Linked DNA regions of Homo sapiens: region 2 is linked to region 1. Evidence: promoter capture Hi-C in 16 types of primary human blood cells and fetal thymus (Javierre and others, 2016). All regions are on one chromosome and are shown on one strand. Each heading gives the region's core, a stretch centred on a gene start or on the middle of the fragment in contact. The rest is flanking DNA. Distances are from core to core; before and after follow the strand shown.

Evidence for each region. The method cuts DNA at HindIII sites, captures the fragments that hold promoters and counts their contacts. A CHiCAGO score of 5 or more calls a contact.
Region 2: the fragment with the promoter of SH3PXD2B here is called in contact with the fragment with the promoter of FBXW11 in region 1 in 1 of 17 cell types (erythroblasts); the score reaches 5.0 in erythroblasts.

Annotation. Positions count from the first base shown.
Region 1 is chr5:172,003,913-172,008,502 of GRCh38, reverse strand. It overlaps FBXW11 (F-box and WD repeat domain containing 11), which reads left to right and starts at 1,865. Exons shown (of 14, transcript NM_001378974.1): 1 at 1,865-2,045. The coding sequence starts at 2,001. RefSeq lists enhancers at 1-98, 1,541-1,810, 1,354-1,981, 2,581-2,700 and silencers at 1,841-2,120, 2,131-2,240. The HindIII fragment of the contact is 14,963 bases long and covers 1-2,959 here.
Region 2 is chr5:172,452,728-172,457,317 of GRCh38, reverse strand. It overlaps SH3PXD2B (SH3 and PX domains 2B), which reads left to right and starts at 2,793. Exons shown (of 13, transcript NM_001017995.3): 1 at 2,793-3,040. The coding sequence starts at 2,966. RefSeq lists an enhancer at 3,306-3,827. The HindIII fragment of the contact is 9,231 bases long and covers 1-4,590 here.

The DNA of each region.
Region 1 (4,590 bases), core at 616-3,115:
AGAGAATGCAAAAACACTTTGAGAAAGTGAAAAGCAGCCTCTGATATCTGGAAGCTGGCCTGGTACAATCAGCCATGCCATGATGTTACTAGACCACAGCCTGGCCCTTATAGCTAGGCTTTGTGTTTTCCTGTAGAACAAAAACAATTCCAAAGAACATCAACATCAGACGAGGTCATTCTGTGACCATGATAGATCCAGACAAATACAAGACCACTCTATAATCAGGTCTAAACACGATAAAAAGATAAAACCTGATGATTGTCCAAACCACAAAAAATGACTCAACATCCCCACTTGGCTAATATGAGGGAGCTGCTGCTGCACTTTTTTTTTTTTTTTTCGTTTTTGAGACAAGGTCTGGCTCTATCACTCAGGGTACAGTGGAGTGGTGCGATCTCCATTCACTGAAACCTCCACTTCCTGGGCTCAAGCGATCGTCCCACCTCTGCCTCCCAAGTAACTGAGATGACAGGCGCGCACCACCAGGCCCGGTTCATTTTTGTATTTTTTGTAGAGAAGAGTTTCGCCATGTTGCCCAGGCTGGTCTGGAACTCCTGCGCTCAAGCAATTCGCCTGCCTCGGTTTACCAAAGTGCTGGGATTACAGGCGTGAGCCACTGCGCCCGGCCAGGCTGCTGTTTCTTTATCTGCACAGCTTTAGCCTCAATCTAGAATTCCCTTCCTCTAGATAAGATGAACTGAGATGCTCAATCATGGAACGACCCTCTCTTCCTGACAGTATCTAATCCAGTGAAGCTCTCACTTCCTTAAACCCTCTCCCAAATCACTAACAACTCTTACCGAGAGGCCCTATCGTTCCTCAATGTGTGTTCTCAGTCACTGCAACTAGTAATAAACCCAGCTTGTTCAACGATCCGTGTCTTCCTGGTGGGATTTGGTTAGAGGGCACGGACAGACCTAAGTTACACAGAGTTGGAGGCTGAGTTCACTAGAAGGAGTCTCCGCTTGTGTGTTCCTTCTTAGCCACTCTTTTGGTTAGTGTCTGTCGTCCCTCCACCAGAATTAAGCTCCATGAGAACAGGAGCCTTGTCTGTCATGTTCAGAGCTGATTCTCAGCGCCTAGAACGGTACGCAGCGGAAGCTGGATGCTTAAAAAATAACCATTTTCTGAACGAATGAATGAGGGGCTCGATATACGCACGTCCCCTTTAATCTCGCAGCTCCTCGCAGATCGTGTGACATACAGACAGCACCACAGCACATTTCCCAAAACCCCGTCTTTCCCGAAGAAATCTCGAAACTCTCACTCCTGGGATGCCCATCCTCTCAGAGCCTCTTCCCCAGGCCGAGCTTCTCTCACTCGCTGGCCCCTTCCCACACCTGAGCCCCAGGTCTATACACCTTCCTAACGCACCTAGAACCCACCTGTCTCCACCATCTGCCCCTACCATCAGACACTGCCGGACGGGCCGCGCAGCTACCTAGGCGTCTAGGGAGCACTGCGGCATGGACCGCGCATGTGCGGAAATGGGTCGCATACGCAGGACCTCCGACAAGTGAGGAGTTGCCTCGGAGTTTCCGTCCCGGTCTGGGCAGCCTTGGGCTGCCAGGAAGTCAAGAGAAGCTAGCCGGAAGGACAACCCGGGCGCACGGCTTTCTGGGACACGTAGTCGTGGCGCTCTCGAGGCCCTGCCATGAGCAAGCTCTTAACTCTTCAGGTCTGCACGTCCTACGCCCACCGTCCAGTGCTACTCTCAGCTCGGAGTTCAGCTTCGGGCTGCCAAGAGCCAGCAACCTGGTGTCAGAGGCTCGGTCCCACAACGCTCTGCGGGCCGCGGCGCCTGCTGGGAGGTGTAGTCCCCGATCTGCGTACTGCGTTCGCCGAGGGGGAGGGCGGAGCTGCCGGCGGCCCGGGCGGGCTGGCAGCTAGAGTGGGTGCGATAGCCGCCTCCGCCTCTGCCGCCTCCGCCGTCGCCTCCTCCGCCCGGGCCGTTCGCTGCTGCGCGGGGAGAGCGAGGCGGGGCCGCCGGGGCCGCCATGGAGCCCGACTCGGTGATTGAGGACAAGACCATCGAGCTCATGGTGAGTGCGGCCCGCTGGACCGTCTGTGCTTCCGTCCGTCCGGCCCCGGGCGGGCCTGCCCACCTCAACGTCCGGTGCGAGGCCGGCTCTGGCCCTTCCCAGACGCCTCGACCCAGACCCGGGCCCCCAGCCTTCCCTGGCCTCGGACCTGGCGCGGGCTCCTCTGATCCCTCGACATCTCCGGCCGGTCCTGGCCCGGCCCCCTCCATGCCCCTCGCTTCTCCCCCTCCCCCTGGTCCCGTCTCCGGTCCCAGCTCTCGGACGACCCTCGCTCGTTTATGCTGTAGACTTAGGTCGCACTCGCTCTAGCACCCCATTCTCCTTCTTTTAGAAAGGGATTTTTTTTTCTTTCCTCTGTTTCGGCCCAGGCCCGCACCGCGCTTGCAAGCCCCACTCAGGCCGAGTGAGATGGTGGGAAGGAGTACGGAGATGGGTTGGGGCCGCCTGGGCCTCCGCGTCCTAGGAGAGGTCTCAGCACCCACTCCCCAGCCTAGGTCTGTGTGGATGCCAGGATAGGCCCTACAGAGCTGGGGGGGCAGGGAGCTTTCGGGTTTGAGGCTGTGGCGGATAAGGAGGCCTCTTTCCCGGGCCCTTGTGGTGTCCGGCTTCTCGGACAAAGGGTTTCCTACCCGGCGGAGAGGGATGTTTGCATAGCAAGGGCCCAGGTACTCTGGATTCCATCCTCCAGGAAAGAGAAGGCGCAACTTCACGTTTTCCAGAGCTGCTTTGGGAAATTGGAGATGACTGGGGAGGGAGCCATCCTCATCACTGCCGCGAGGTCTTTCTTCTCAGAAAGAAAAAAAAAAGAGGGGAATCCTTGGCCCCCGGGGGAAGCGACCACTCTTCTGTTAGAAACCACTGGCAGCCAGGCCAGACTCCCGGTCCGTGGACACCCTCCACCCTCCTCCGAAGCTTTAGGATTTGAAACCAGAAGGGGTTTTTAGGAACAGGACAGTGAGAGAGTGGCTAGAAGTGAAGAATTTGCTAATTGATGGATGATTTGGTGGAAGAAATAAAATATGGCAGATATTACCTGCCAACGTGAACATGAGGGAAATCAAATTGGGCTCTGGAGAGCTGGGAAGAGGAAGTCTGCATCAGCAAATGGACATGTCCAGGATTTCTTCCTATGGAAGCCTTGACAGTTTCTTTGTATCTTTCCTAACACGGTAACAACTTCTTCCCCAGGGTTGAGAGGAGAGGTGGAAGAATCTACTTAACCCAGCAAAATGTTTTCCTAGCCAGATTTTCTTCAGTGTGAAAATGTTTATTGAGTCAGTGATTCCACTGGGTAGGGTTGGTGACATCAGAGCCACTTCCCCCATTTAACGCTATAAATAATAAATGGTGACACTGAAAGTCTGTTGGATAGCTGCATGGTTTCTGTGGATGATGGTGTCTGGGGAGTTGAGATGCTTGTTTTAAAAATGGAAGTACAGTAGCATAAATATGGAGGCAGCTTAATGTTTGCTGTCCTTTGCATAATTCACAGAACTGGACTTCTCTAGCATTCTTGAAAACTAGGAGGGAAAAAAAGAAACTGATAGTTTTTGATTTTTGCATGCGTGTGTGTGTGTGTGTGTGTGTGTGCACGTGGGGTTGTTTTCAAAGGGATGTCACATACTGAGTGATTTTTCCTTTTCAGCATAATTTATCATACTTGTAGTCAAGTGTTTGGTATTCTGTAACTTTTGTAGTGGGTTATTTTGGTAACTATCTTAAATCGACTAAGTATATTACATATTCTTAAGAATGTACACACAGTGCATGTACTTACAACAGAAGTACTTCATATCGAAAAATTGTAACTTGGTGCCTCTTTGAAATTGGCTGTTCCCAGCTCCTTCCATTTCTATTCCTTTAAAAAATAACGAAAATGTATTTATTTTCAAAAGAATTATAAGAAATACGTTGTAACCCAAGTCAGTGTATGGTTACAAAATAAAAAAATAAAAACCTTTGGCCTAAATTCACTGGCTTCCTATGCTTATAACTTAAAAAGTTTTGATTTTACATGATAGCACTTGGTTTTGATCAGAAAAGAGATTTCAGCCTGTTAAGGACATTATAAACTGGGATTTAAACTGGAATTCTTTGAAAATTTAACAGAGTTTAGTTATATTACGATTAATTTTAAAATGGCCTTTTATTTAAGGATTTTGATATTTCCTGAAAGGGATATCAGTTAAGACTCTTAGACAACCCTTATCATAAATTAAATATGTGTATTTATTTTAGTAAAGTAGCACAGGTGCTTAACAACTGATTGAGTAAATCCAGGATCAAATGTAGGAAATAATGCCTTAGAATCTAATTGCATGTGGCTTTCTGTTTTCACTGCATTTCAATTACAGTTTCCAGAACTGGGTTAAAAATATTTTTTACATTGGTTTCAAGATAATACGATTGATGGAGGAAAAGGGGTTAAACTGATGGTGTTTTGAAAGCCTAAAGCATGAAATATTTTTAGATTTTTATGAGTCAGCTTCAGTACTCAAATATTTGTGATTGTGCTGCTTGTACCAGTTTGGCACTTAATGCTTAA
Region 2 (4,590 bases), core at 1,544-4,043, 450 kb before region 1:
CACATGATCCAGCAATTCCATTTCTTGGTATATGCACAAAAGAATTGAAACCAGGGACTTGAACAGATATTTTTATACCAATGTTCACAGCAGCATTATTCAGAATAGCCAAAAGATGAAAACAACCCAAGTGACTGTTGACAGATGAATGGATAAAGAAAAAGTGCTATATACATATAATGGAATATTATTCAGCCATAAAAAGGAAATTCTGACACATGCTACAACATGGATGAGCTTTGAGGACATTATGCCGAGTGAAATAAGCCAGACACAAAAAGACAAACATTGTGTGTTTCCACTCATATGAAGTACCTAGCATAGTCAAACTCATAGAGATGGAAAGTAGAACAATGGTTGCCAAGGCCTGGAGGAGGTTGGGGGGCAGTGGGGGGGGACTCAGTGTTTAATAGGGACAGAGCTCCAGTTTAGGAAGATGAGAAAGTTCTGGAGAGGGATGGTGGTGACAGTTGCACAACAATGTGAGTGTACTTAATGCCACTCAACTGTATGCTTTAAACATGGTTGAAATGTTAAATTTTATGTTATGTATTTTTTACTACAATAAAAAAGTAAAACAAAGGAAAGATACGTAAAGATGCAGGGATAGCATCTTCTGCTACTGGTGGTTGTGGGGGGACCTTTGTCTTCCCCAGACAGAGGAGACGGACACAGCCAGCAGGACCCACCTCTGCCACCCATGGTGTGGCTGGGGGCAGGTCTCTCTGCCTCTCCGGAAAAACCCAGGAAGCTGGCTGATTCAGAGAGGGCCTCTAGCTTCTGCCTTCTTAGGAAGGCTTGGCTCCTAATAAGGCAATGCACGATGTGGCAGGGACGGAAAAGCAGACCTTCACTTCTTTGGACATTTCCAATGAGGCCTCAGGACCCTCTGGCTTGGGACTGTACTTCAGAAGAATGTGCCTTACAGGAATTACATGAGTGAGGGTCCTGGCACCGAACAGATGCCACCCTCAAGCTGGGTCCATGAAGACAGTTTAGTAAAGGGTCAATGTATACGGGTGTGGGCGGGGCTAAGGAAGCACCGAGGATGGCGTAGTACCCAGGGCTTGCAACAGCAAGACTGTCACTGTCCTGAGCAGAAAAGTGGCTTCAGGAACCCTGAGAGAGACCATGTGAGAAAGGGCACCTTTGGTAAAAACAATCGGGGAGGAGGGGCTTAGGGATTAAATACCCAGACCTCCCTCTCTCCTCTTGCCCTCAATCTCCTGCCAGGCCCTTCCACTGGCCAAGCCAAACAGGAAGACCAGGACAGAGAGCTGTCAGTGAAATCCACACAGGCCAGCCTCTGGGGCTGGAGCAGGATGGTAAAGTCTGGCAAGGAAGTCAGAGGAGCAAATGGAGGGGCGGATCCAAAGTGAATCAGCCCAAATCATCCACGTGGCCTGGCCGAGGCTGAGAGCCGTCCTACCCTGGATAAGCCCACCCTTTTCCAAAGGCTGATCCTGGACCGGGGTGGGAAGTAGCTCTGTCGTGGCATGGAGAAGAGTCGTACGGTTTGTTGAAAAGAGCCCCCACTTACTGGCTGTGAAAACACTGGCCAGGAGCCTAAACCTCCCATCCATGCATTATATATTCATTTATCCATTCATTCAGCCAACATCTCCTGAAAGTGACTCAGTGCCCAGCCAGTGCTAGGAGGCACTAGATGAAGAAACGAGGAGCTGCCCCAGCCACGGCAGCTTCAACGTGTGAGATCCACCTAGAGCCAGGCAGTGACGGGCTCCATCCACCGGCTCCCTGACTCTGGACCTTCACTGATGTAATTCCTGTAAGGCACATTCTTCTGAAGTACAGTTCCCAAGTCAGAGGGTCCTCAGGCCTCATTGGAAATGTCCAAATGTCTGGAGGCCGTCCTCTGTAAAAACACCTTTTCCTCCTAGAGTCTGCCTGAGGATGCAAAGACAGCATTTGTGAAAAGCAGGGGCCACGGGGCCCAGCGAGCAGTTAAGTGCTCCGCAACTGGAAATCGATGGCCTTGCTAACAAGCACCCAGCTGCCCCTCACACATAGTCACCACCCTTTTATCCCCTTTTGTTGCTTCCATGGCAATTACATTGCACGTATGCGCATTTGTTGCAGTTTTTCTCTCCCTCACTCCCCATGTCCCAGACTGAGGCTGGGGGAACCTGGTCACGGGTCTCTTGCTCCTCCTGAATCACCAGGGCTTGGGGTGGCTTTAGGAACGCCAGCACTCATACCATGGACTGCACTGCGGAATGGCTTCACATGCACTTAATCCCGGGCGCAGCACCGGCAGGCAGGCGGTACTACTGACACGTGCTACAACATGGATGAGCCTTGAGGACATTATGCCGAGTGAAATAAGCCAGACACAAAAAGACAAACATGGTGCTTGTACTACTAGGCTCATATTATAGACGAAGAGACCCAACCCAGAGAGGTTAAGCAACTTGCCGAGGGCACAGAGTGGAAAAGCGGCAAAGCCGGGATTCGAACCCGGGTGTCCGGCTCTCCAAACTGGCGGTGGATGGCGGCTGCCGGAGCGAGAGTGCTGGAATGAATCGATACGTCAATCAGTGAACGGGCGACGGGGTCAGTCCAGTCCCCTCCCCCGGCGCGGCGGCTCAGCACCGGGACAAAGGCCGGGCGGGGGCCGGACGTGGCCGGCGGGGTTCGCGCGCGGTGGGCGGGGGTCGGGGCCGGGCCCTTTAAGGGGGGCGGGCCGGCGGCGCGGGGGGCGGTGCGGGGGGCGGTGCGGGGGGCGGTGCGGGGGGCGGGCCGGGGGCGGGCGGCGGCGGCTGGGCCCGGCTGGAGTGCGCGCCGAGCGAAGGGCGGCGGCGGTGGCGGCGGCGGCTCGTGCTCGGCCCCGGCTGCGATTGCGCTCAGCTCCAGGTTCCCTGCCCGCGGCGGCGCGCCCCCAGCGCTCCCTGCACCCCGCGCCACCCGCACCCGCGCTCGGCCCGCTGCGGGCGGAGGAGCGGCCATGCCGCCGCGGCGCAGCATCGTGGAGGTGAAGGTGCTAGACGTGCAGAAGCGGCGGGTGCCCAACAAGCATTATGTGAGTGCGGCGCGGCCCCCACGCCCCCTTGAGCCCGCGCCCCGTCGGGGGCGACCGAGGGCCCCCGGCTTGGAAAACTTCTGCCTCCAGCGCTTCCCGTCCCCTCCTCCCCTGCTCTCCCCTCGGCTCTGCGGCGGCGCTGCCCGGGTCCCTCCCGACTCCTCCTCCCTCCCTCCCCTCCCCTCCCCGCTTTTGCCTCGTTCTCCCCCTCCATCCCTTCCTCCCGCCTCGCCCCCCTACTCGCCTCCCTGCGGCTCCTCTACCCCTTTCTGTCTTCTCCGTGTCCCCCCAACTCCCGTCCTGCTCATCTGTGGAAAAGTCTGGCTCCAGCCGGTGAGGGGTCTGAGACAGAAAGCGGGAGAGACAGAAGTGCCTGTTCTCAGGCCGCCCGCCTTGCCCCTCCTTGTCCAGAGGCGCGCAGACCCGCAGTCCCCAGCCACAGGTAGCCCCTCTAGGGTTCGCCGAATTTGACTCCGTTCTTTGGCAAGAGCCGGCCTGGGCGATGGAGGAGATCTCTGGGAATGGATCATTTGAGTGGCTACGCCTTTAAAGGGTTAAAAACATCCCCTGCCCCCTCTCTCCAGTAACTTCTGTTTTAAAATGTACGAAAGTTTTCTCCTGGCATCTCCCTCTGGAACATGGGAATCTTGTTTGGAGCTGGCAAGGACTTGAGAAAATGGGACAGTAGCGTCGTTTTGCAGATAGGAAGGCTGAGGCTCAGAGGTTGCAGGTCCTGGAACATAGAGCTGCATTCGGGCTTCCCTCCCTCCAGCAGGGGTGCCTGGGGCTGACGGTGACCTGCAGGTGGAAAGTGGCTTCCGCAGCAACCTAGGGGACACGTCTGCAGATTCAGGAGGCCCTGGGACCACCTCGCAGGTTCTAGGTGGAGATAAAGGGGATGTGGGGTGATGGGCCCACATGAGGCCTTGGGGAGGGCCTCATTACAGCAGGGAAGGGGGCTATAGTGTCTCTGGCGGTGAGAAGTGGGCAGTGGCGGAGCCTGGCTGCAGAGAAGTTAACCAGGAAGGGAAAAAGAGTAAGAGGGAGGGAAAAAATCCTAACAAAGAAGTATAGAACAATGAATAGAAAAGGGCGTTGGCTGGCTAAATTAAGCTCCTTGGCCTCCCTGGAAGTCGTCTTCAGATCTTTTTTTTTTAAGAACTAATTCTTACAAAGTAGATCTGCATGCCTTCCGTGAATAGCCTGTGAAATTCTGAAAGGAGATAGCCGGGAACCCACTCCGCGCTCTCCACAAGAAAGGGTGTGCTGTGTGAGTCTGTATTGTTATTGGCTGGGCAGCCAGTTATTCAGCCCTTAGCCAGGCGGTGGGAAGCTATTTCCTGGACCTGTGGCATCTTTATATAGAGTGAAGTTTCCCTTGATTCCAGAGCTGAGCTAAATTGTCTTTTTTTTTTCCTTCCTTTTTTTATTTTTTGTTAACTGTTTTCAAATGCTGCCAAATCTTAGTTTCTTGTTTGAGCCTGTTAGCGTGTAAGTGAGTTTGCCTCTTTGGCATGAAGACAGTTTTCACCAACATGGCAACTGGAGGA